2 separate regions of the Homo sapiens genome follow, and region 2 is linked to region 1. The links are contacts of gene promoters, found by promoter capture Hi-C in blood cells and fetal thymus (Javierre and others, 2016). All regions are on one chromosome and are shown on one strand. Each heading gives the region's core, a stretch centred on a gene start or on the middle of the fragment in contact. The rest is flanking DNA. Distances are from core to core; before and after follow the strand shown. Region 1 holds the start of TBRG1 (transforming growth factor beta regulator 1). Region 2 has its middle 13 kb from the start of OR8B3.

Evidence for each region. The method cuts DNA at HindIII sites, captures the fragments that hold promoters and counts their contacts. A CHiCAGO score of 5 or more calls a contact.
Region 2: a contact is called between a fragment that was not itself captured here and the fragment with the promoter of TBRG1 in region 1, in 2 of 17 cell types (megakaryocytes and M2 macrophages). The highest score is 7.3, in megakaryocytes.

Annotation. Positions count from the first base shown.
Region 1 is chr11:124,621,179-124,625,259 of GRCh38, reverse strand. It overlaps TBRG1 (transforming growth factor beta regulator 1), which reads right to left and starts at 2,396. Exons shown (of 9, transcript NM_032811.3): 1 at 2,027-2,396; 2 at 259-329. The coding sequence starts at 2,176. LOC124902779 (a long non-coding RNA gene) reads left to right here and starts at 2,059. Exons shown (of 2, transcript XR_007062932.1): 1 at 2,059-4,081. RefSeq lists an enhancer at 2,250-2,319. The HindIII fragment of the contact is 1,322 bases long and covers 1,282-2,603 here.
Region 2 is chr11:124,409,575-124,413,587 of GRCh38, reverse strand. It overlaps a transcript of OR8B3 not described here. Among named protein-coding and RNA genes, the nearest start is that of OR8B3, 13 kb to the right of the region's middle. The HindIII fragment of the contact is 1,139 bases long and covers 829-1,967 here.

The sequences.
Region 1 (4,081 bases), core at 1,147-3,646:
TATTAGATGTGGCAAGATGGCTTTTTCAGAAAGATGAGTAGAGGAGCTGTCTCATCGCCATGGCCCAACATAACTTGGGTGTGCAGGCACCAATGCCTCAGGCTGTAAGTTTCTCTGTGCTTGATCAAGTGGCCAAGGGGCTGTGCGATACGCATCAATCCCACTGGGAAAAAAAGTCTCCAGAGCAGTAACACCATTATCAATCACCAAATCAATCACCAAAAAGGTGATGCTGAACACAAAATGAAGCCAGCTCACCTTCTTTCTTCTTTTGCTTTAAGAAATTTTTCCTCAAGACGAGCAATTTCATCACAAATAGCAGCATTTTCCTTTAAGTAAAAATGTGAATATAATAACATAAAATGAATAAAAAAATCACATTATTATGCTGGGAAGAGGATCCATATTTCAAACCAAAAAAGCTTGTATTACTGAGAAGAAGGAGCTATTCGACCGTGTGACAAACTATAAATAAATCCATAGATAAAGGTAGTCAGGTTCTACTATGGACAGGGTATAGCTATGTAATTTATTATCCAATCCGGGACATCTTTGAGTGAAAAGGGGGTACTATTAATGCTTATGCCAGAACAATACGGTGAACCAGGACTGTCCTGGGCAAGCCAAGATTAATGGTCACCCTAATTAGTATAGCCTTTGGCAAAGAAAAAGGCATACTGCTTAAATCCTTATATGCTTAAATTAAATACTATAAATATGAAAACTGTCTATTCCCAAGTGCCTCAACTCTTGAAAAACTTACAAAGCCAGTCTAACCCAAATAGAGAAAAACTGGACAGAACAAAATCAAATTTAGTGTGTAAAATTCTTAAACTTCACAATCTACTTATACGAATTCAAGTATTATCTTTTTTCTTTTTTTTTTTTTTTTTTTTGTAAATGATGACTCAATCTATCTCCCAAGCACCAATCCTGAAGGGAATGCTGAATCTGAATGCCCCCATAGGTGGAACTTCAAACTCTCAATGTTCAAAACAACATCGCTTTTTCTTCACAAAATCTTCATTATGTATTTGATGGAACCAATATCCTTGAAATAACATAAATTCCAAGCTTTAGGTACCTTTGACGTATAGGGGATAAAAGAAAGGGAACAGTCAATCAGATGCTAAGTTCTCTTAGTTTTACTTTTCTTGTTTCTCTCCAGTGCAAATAGCAAGCAATACACATAGCAAGTGCTGAATAAGTGCTTTTGGAATGTGTATTCTAATTTCTGAACCTTTCCTTATGCTTCCAAAAATGCTGAGAGACGTTCAAGCTTTTGGTAGAGAGAAGAGATGAACTGTTGACTTGGATGTGGGGGGACATTTGAGGACTCCACCCCTATTTCCAAGCACTGAGGCAAGCCAAACTATTCTAATATAAAGTTATGGCTGGCAAGCTATATTAAGTTTATTCACTCAATAAATCCAGTGCTTCTACAATAAAAGAAAGGAAGAAACACTTGGAACACTCAAAGGTTAGAGGGGGGAAATTACTGACAGTTTCATGTACCTCTTTGGGCAAAGGGTCAGTTATGGGGATTTGAGGTGCTCAGAAAATAGTCTGTGTACTGGAAGTCATAAAACGGAATCAGGTTTATCTAAGTTGGAGTCAGGGCTCTGACACAGTACCCTTGGGCAAATCATCTCTCTGGGCTTCAGTGTTCTCATTTTACAAATAATGCCTAATTCTCAGGGCTGTATCTCGAGAATCAAACACATTTCCTAGAGTCCTGCAGTAACAACGATGACTAAAATTTATTGGTATGTCTTTTACGCACCAAGCACTTTTCTTTACTCATTTAATATTCATTATTCTGCAAGACAGTTACTAGCTCATTTACAGATGAGGACACAGAGAAATTACGTAATTTGTCCAAGGACACAAGGCTAACAAGTAGTAACGTATACGGAAAAGCCAACACTGTATTAATACTGTCACACTGGGAAGGGGGAACAGCTTGGGGAAAGATTTTGTGAGGGAGTCTCCAGGAGGGGACCGGCTGAACGTGGGTCAGACTCACAAACACCGTGGCCTTGGCCGCTTTGCGCAGCCGCAGGTACTTCAGCCGGTACTTCTCATTCTGGCTCTTCTTCGGGAGCTTTTTCATCCTGGCCTTGCTGGACTGCAGCGGAGCCCGCGGCGAGGAAGCGAGGCCGTCCAGCAGGCTCATGGTCCAGCCCCGCTACGGGGGCCCCAGGACGCTGCCGGCATCGGATCCTAAGTCGGGGAGCGGGCGGGAGCGCTGGCTTTGTCTGTTCCGGGCTAGCGGAATCGGGCCTCTAGGAATCTAGCTCTCCGGGACGTTCCCAGGGCTGACCGCAGGGCCAGAGACACCCGCAACCGAACGGGCTCCCGGCGCCTCCCAGCACTTCCGTGTCTGTCTTGGAAGTAAGCCCTTCCCGGAAGTTACGTCCCGGTGTCGGCAGTGTGTAACTTCCGGGGCAGGGAGAGTAGGGTGGTCTGGGCGGTGCGATCGTGGGCACCGGGAGGAAAGAGACAGCTGGGGGCTAGTGCTGGATGAGGAGAGGAGGGAGGGCCGGCGGCCGTGTGCTTAGCTGAAGGGTACTATAGTTGAACCAACGAACTAACAAGAAGCTTACCAATGCGAGCTCTCATTCACGCTCCCCCGCTGGGCCACTGCGTTTTAATACGTTTTTCATGCTTCGTGCAGACAGGCTTTCCCAGACTGTAGGACAAAGTGAGCCCAAGTGCTGGGACTCTGCTTCTTTCCCTGCTTCGTTCCTTTCTGCAGCTCACAGAAATGTGTTTGCAGGGCCTCCTAATGCTATCATCTTCCCAGGAGCTGGGAACACAGTAGTGAACAGGAAGAAAGGCCTTGGCTCTTTCTAGTAGGGAAGATGAGAGATTTAACACGCAGTTTTAATACTAGCACTAAGTAGGCACTCAGTAAATGTTTGTCTAGTGAAACCAGAAGTGTATTTCTGTACATAATATGTACATGTATATGGTTCTAACTTTACAACCAAGGTCTATTTAAAATTAGGGAAGATAGAAAAATCTTTAGGGTGCGGTATTGGTAAGTGACCCAGGCTGGATGGCAGAAGGCTTGCTTGCATCTTCTTCCAGCGATGCCAATAACTAGTTCAGTAACTCTCTAGTTTTTTCTCTCAAAAAAAAAATTTGCTGTTCTGCTGTATTTTGTCCTTGCGGGCTTTGGGGTCTGACTTTATTTGTATTATTTATTTTCATATACATGTATCACATCTAGGGGGAAGAAAAGTGCTATCCTTTGTCCTAGTTTGCAGGCTGTTTTGGCCAATGGACTTTAGTGGGATTTGCATGAAGATATTTTTTGTTTCTTCTTCATTGGACACATTTCCTTACACTTACAAAACATTTCATTCGAACTTTAGAAATTTAGAAAATATAGTACAAGAAAGGTTTAAAAATCCATAATGCTACCACTTGGAATGAACTACTTTTACCATGTTAGTATATGTGTCTAATATTTTATGCATTTTTGTATAGGTTAGACAATACTGAAAATAAAGTTTTCTTTTTGTTCATTTACCATTGTATCATTTCAGTTTCACAAATGTTAGTATAGCTTCCTTATAAGCATAATTTTAAGTGGCTGGTTAATATTCCAGTTATGGCTATATTATATTTTGCATAATTATTTCCATGTTCTTTGACTTTTTGGTCAATTCCATTAAAAGCATATCTTTGCGTCCAAAGCTTTTTCCATATAGGACTGTTCAGAGGCTGGATATGTGTGCTCCACAAAGGTCATGCCACTGAGCAACTCATTCAGTCCTTATTTGTTTAGAAGAATATTTACCTAGTGCCTATTATGATACCACCTTTAAGAACCTTAATTTAAGAAGGAAAGACAGACAAGTAAATTGGCAATGTTAATATGGTATAATAAGTTTGTTTCAGAGGTAGGTTTTATTTTATTTGGCAGCACTCAGGGAAGGAGGGAGGAGATAGGAAAGGTTTCTTAAAGGAGATACATCTGGGCAGACTCTGAAGGAGAGGTAGTGGTTGGTTGGCCCAGTGAAGAACAAAGGGGGGCATGCTGGATGGTGGAGACAGCATATGCAAAGGCTCA
Region 2 (4,013 bases), core at 149-2,648, 210 kb after region 1:
ATCCCCAGAGTCAAAGCATAAAGGAAAAGAATAGGTGTATGGATTTGGACAGAGAGGAAACCATATACATATGCCTAATGATTTATATATTGGTTTACTCATTACATTAAAAAATAATAACAAAGGACTGAGATTAACCTCAGTTAATAACAAAGGACTGAGATAGTCCTTTGATTATTCATCAAAGAGGGACAGATCAAATAGATTTTCAGATATCTGTACAAAAACTGCTATCTAGGTGTATAAAAAATGAAGACTACCTTTATGTATGAAATAATCTCCAAAAGATATTGTTAAGTGGAAAAATCTCTCTTACACCATTGTTCCAGTCTAGCCTGGTTGGTCCATATGGTGACTGCACAGGTATCTGGGACTCCTCTTTACTACTCTTCTGAATCTACTCTTCCTGGGTCCTAAGTCTTACTCATTCTTCAGTCGTTTCTCAAGAAGTGATAGATAGGAAATTAAAAGCGAGTTGAAAAACAGTGCATACAGTATACTACTATTTGTGTAAAATTTGTGGGATAATGCATGTGAATTTCATTATGCAGTTATGCACTGCATGATGATGTTTTGGTTGATGACAGATTGCACATATGATGGTAGTCCCCTAAGATTATAATGGAGCTGAAAAACTCCTATCCCCTAGCAATGTCATAGCCATCAAAAGGTAAAGACATAGCACAATGCATTACCCACATATTTGTAGTGATCCTGGTGTAAACAAACCAACTGTGCTGCCAGTCATATCAAAGGATAGCACATATTATTATGTACAGTACATAATACTTACTAATGAATGACTGTTACTGGTTTATGTATTAAGCTTACTATACTCTTTCATCATTATTTTGGAGTGTACTTTTTCTACGTATTAAAAAAAATTAACTGCAAAACAACCTCGGGCAGGTTCTTCAGGAGGGATTCCAAAAGACGGCATTGTTACCATAGGAGATGACAGCTCCATATGTTATTGTCCCTGAAAACCATTCAATGAAACAAGATGTGGAGGTGGAAGACAGTAATATTGATGATCCTGACCCTGTGTAAGCCTAGGTTAACATGTGCATTTGTGTCTTAGTTTCTAACAAAAGCATTTATAAAGTAAAAATGTTACAGTAACCTAAAGTTAATTTATTATTGAAGAAAGAAAAATATTTTAAGATAAATTTAGTGTAGCCTAAGTGTAGAGTGTTTATAAAGTCTACAGTAGTGTAGAGTAATGTACTAGACCTCCACGTTCACCTGCCACTCACTCACTGACTCACCCAGAGCAACTTCCAGTCCCACAAGCTCCATTCATGGTAAGTACCCTATACAAGTGTACCATTTTTAATCTTTTATACCATATTTTTACTGTACATTTTCTATGATTGGATATGTTTAGATACAGCAATACTTACCATTGTGTTACAATTGCCTACAGTACAAAGTACAGTCACATGCTGTAGGAGTTTGTAGCCTAGGAGTAAGAGGCTGTACCATGTAGCCTAGGTGTGTGGCAGGCTGTATGATTTAGGTTTGTGTAAATTCACTCTGTGATGTTTGCATAACCACAAAATCACCTAACAACACATTTCTCAGAATATAGTCCTAGTCTCTAAGCAACATAGGACTGTATATGAATAAAATATCACTGATAGCATTGATAGTAACTGGTAGCACTGGTTGCCTCCAGGGAGGACAGCTAGATGGCTGAGAGACAGGGGTATAAAGGAGACTTTCCTCTGCATATCCTTTTTGAATCTTTTGAATTTTGAACCATATCATTGCATTATGGACTTAAATCATTTTAAAAAAAACCCCACAATACTAAGAAGCTGCATTTTCCTTACAGAATATATTAATTCTAAATATATATATATAAATATATATATAAATATATATGTGTGTGTATATATATATATATGGAGCTAAATTTAGGCAGAGGTGGTGGTGGTGATAAGAGAATGTGGTAAAAGAAAGCTTTCCAGGGGAAACAACATCCAAGGAAGAAACAGCGGTGAAAAGCCTAAGACGGAAAAGAGAACGTGTGGCATCCTAAACAGTGCTTTCCTCAAGAAAAATATCTACTGAAATGAGAACATGTTCATGATAGCAAGAGATATAAAAAACCAGAGTAAAAAATTTCCCCTGGCTCAAAGAATCAGCAGGAAAGGTTTTGAGATGTGTGAATAATGTAGAATCATAGACCACAGCAAAAATTACCATGTGGGAACTACAGGTGCTGAACACTTTCAGCTGATGAGATGTGGAGGATATCGAAGAGGATCAGGGCATAAGAAATGAAACTAATGAAATGAAGCTAGGGGCAAGAATTCAATCTTATTTATCATTTTCTATGGTCCTATTAAAAACAGATCTCGGCTTTTTTTTTTCTGGTCTTTATCACCCTATCACTAAATATATGCAGTTGCTTCTTGATTTTTCAGTGTTAGGCCTAAATAAAAAGTCAACTGGTTTTCAGTTTAGGATATCAGAATTAACTTCATTTTTTACCTCCCTTCAACACAAATATACTTTCTGTTCTCTTTATCCTCCCAATACAGTTTATTTTTTGTAGTTGGATTCATATTCAGTGTTTACATAATTATAAGAATGTAAATGCTTTGCTTATGTAAGTACTGTAATGTGTTTTGATCATTTTTCTTTCACTACCTTTGTTCTTTCTAGAATAAATAATGGTTTTGGTTTTTCATTCAATTTTCTATGTACTTATAATAAATTCATCTTAACACTCTCTCTGTTGTTTAAATCATCTTTCCATACTTACAAAACTTGGTGTTCGAAAGCAAATATACTTAACTTAAATATAATAAAAGTTTCCATGTTACTCATATAGAGTTTAAAATAAGTTTTTCTAAATGGAGGGCAGCTCCATAAAGTAATAAACTTGGACCCAAGACCCTTTTCTCATGTTGCTATGTCATCTCTAACACATGCTCTTCTGCATCAGTGAGGCCAAAGAGGGAGCATCGTGAGAGATGATGGAAGTGAAGTTTTTGTGAGTTTGGAACGGACACACTTAACTTTTGCTTATGCTCCATGGCTAGAACTCAGTTATGGCTGTACTTAAGCAAAAGAGACTCTGCGAAAAGTATTCTAGTTTTGTGATCAGGAAGAAGATAAAATGAGTTTGTGGGACATCTAGCCTGTCCATACTTTGTATGCCTTGACCACACCTGGCATGTCGGAAAGTGTCTTTATTTTATACTCATATTTCAATGATACAGTAACATTCAGTATGTGAACTGCCAATTATTTCCCTCAGTTTTAGTATAGTACTTCTCCACACTCAAGTGCCTTCTATTCTAGAGATGTTTCATTTTTCATCTCTGCAGAATAAACCTCCAGTCTTCTGCTGGGGTGTAGGAGGATCACTCTTCTGGATGCACCGAGTAGAAGAGAGAATCTGGGGATCTGCCTACTTCTGTAACAGACTTTCAAGCCGCCTTCCTGTTTTTATGCTCACCATCACCCCTACTTTCAGAGGTGAGCTGTGCCACCACATTACTGAGCACGTGAGACACGCTATGGCGTAATCTGGATATTTGCTTCCACTACGGAGCTCTGAATTCAGCTTTCTGGGGACCACCGAGTCAGTTACTGATTATCACTGTGCCTTCCAGCTTTCTGATTTTTTTTTTTCCTGCTGTCTTTCCCCTGTGTTCTTGTCCCAGTAAGTTAATGAAACATGCTTGTTCTTCTGCCTTGTAATGCCTTCATTAACATTTTAGTGGGCTTTCAGAAAGTAGCAGTGGTTAAAATGGATGAGTTCAACTGTATTTCTCTAACCCAAAGTCCTCTGGCTAAGTCTCTAAGGTGATGTCTGTGAGCACACAAAGCCTGCACAATTCTATCTATTGGCAAAAACACTCCTCTCCTGAGCTGATATACCTTTGCTTAGATAAAGGATCCTTGAGATCTAAACTCCACAAGTAAGTTATCTGATTATTTTGGAAGGTTTACTTATTCATTTCATCAAATAAACATCTGTAGAGGATTTAAGTATG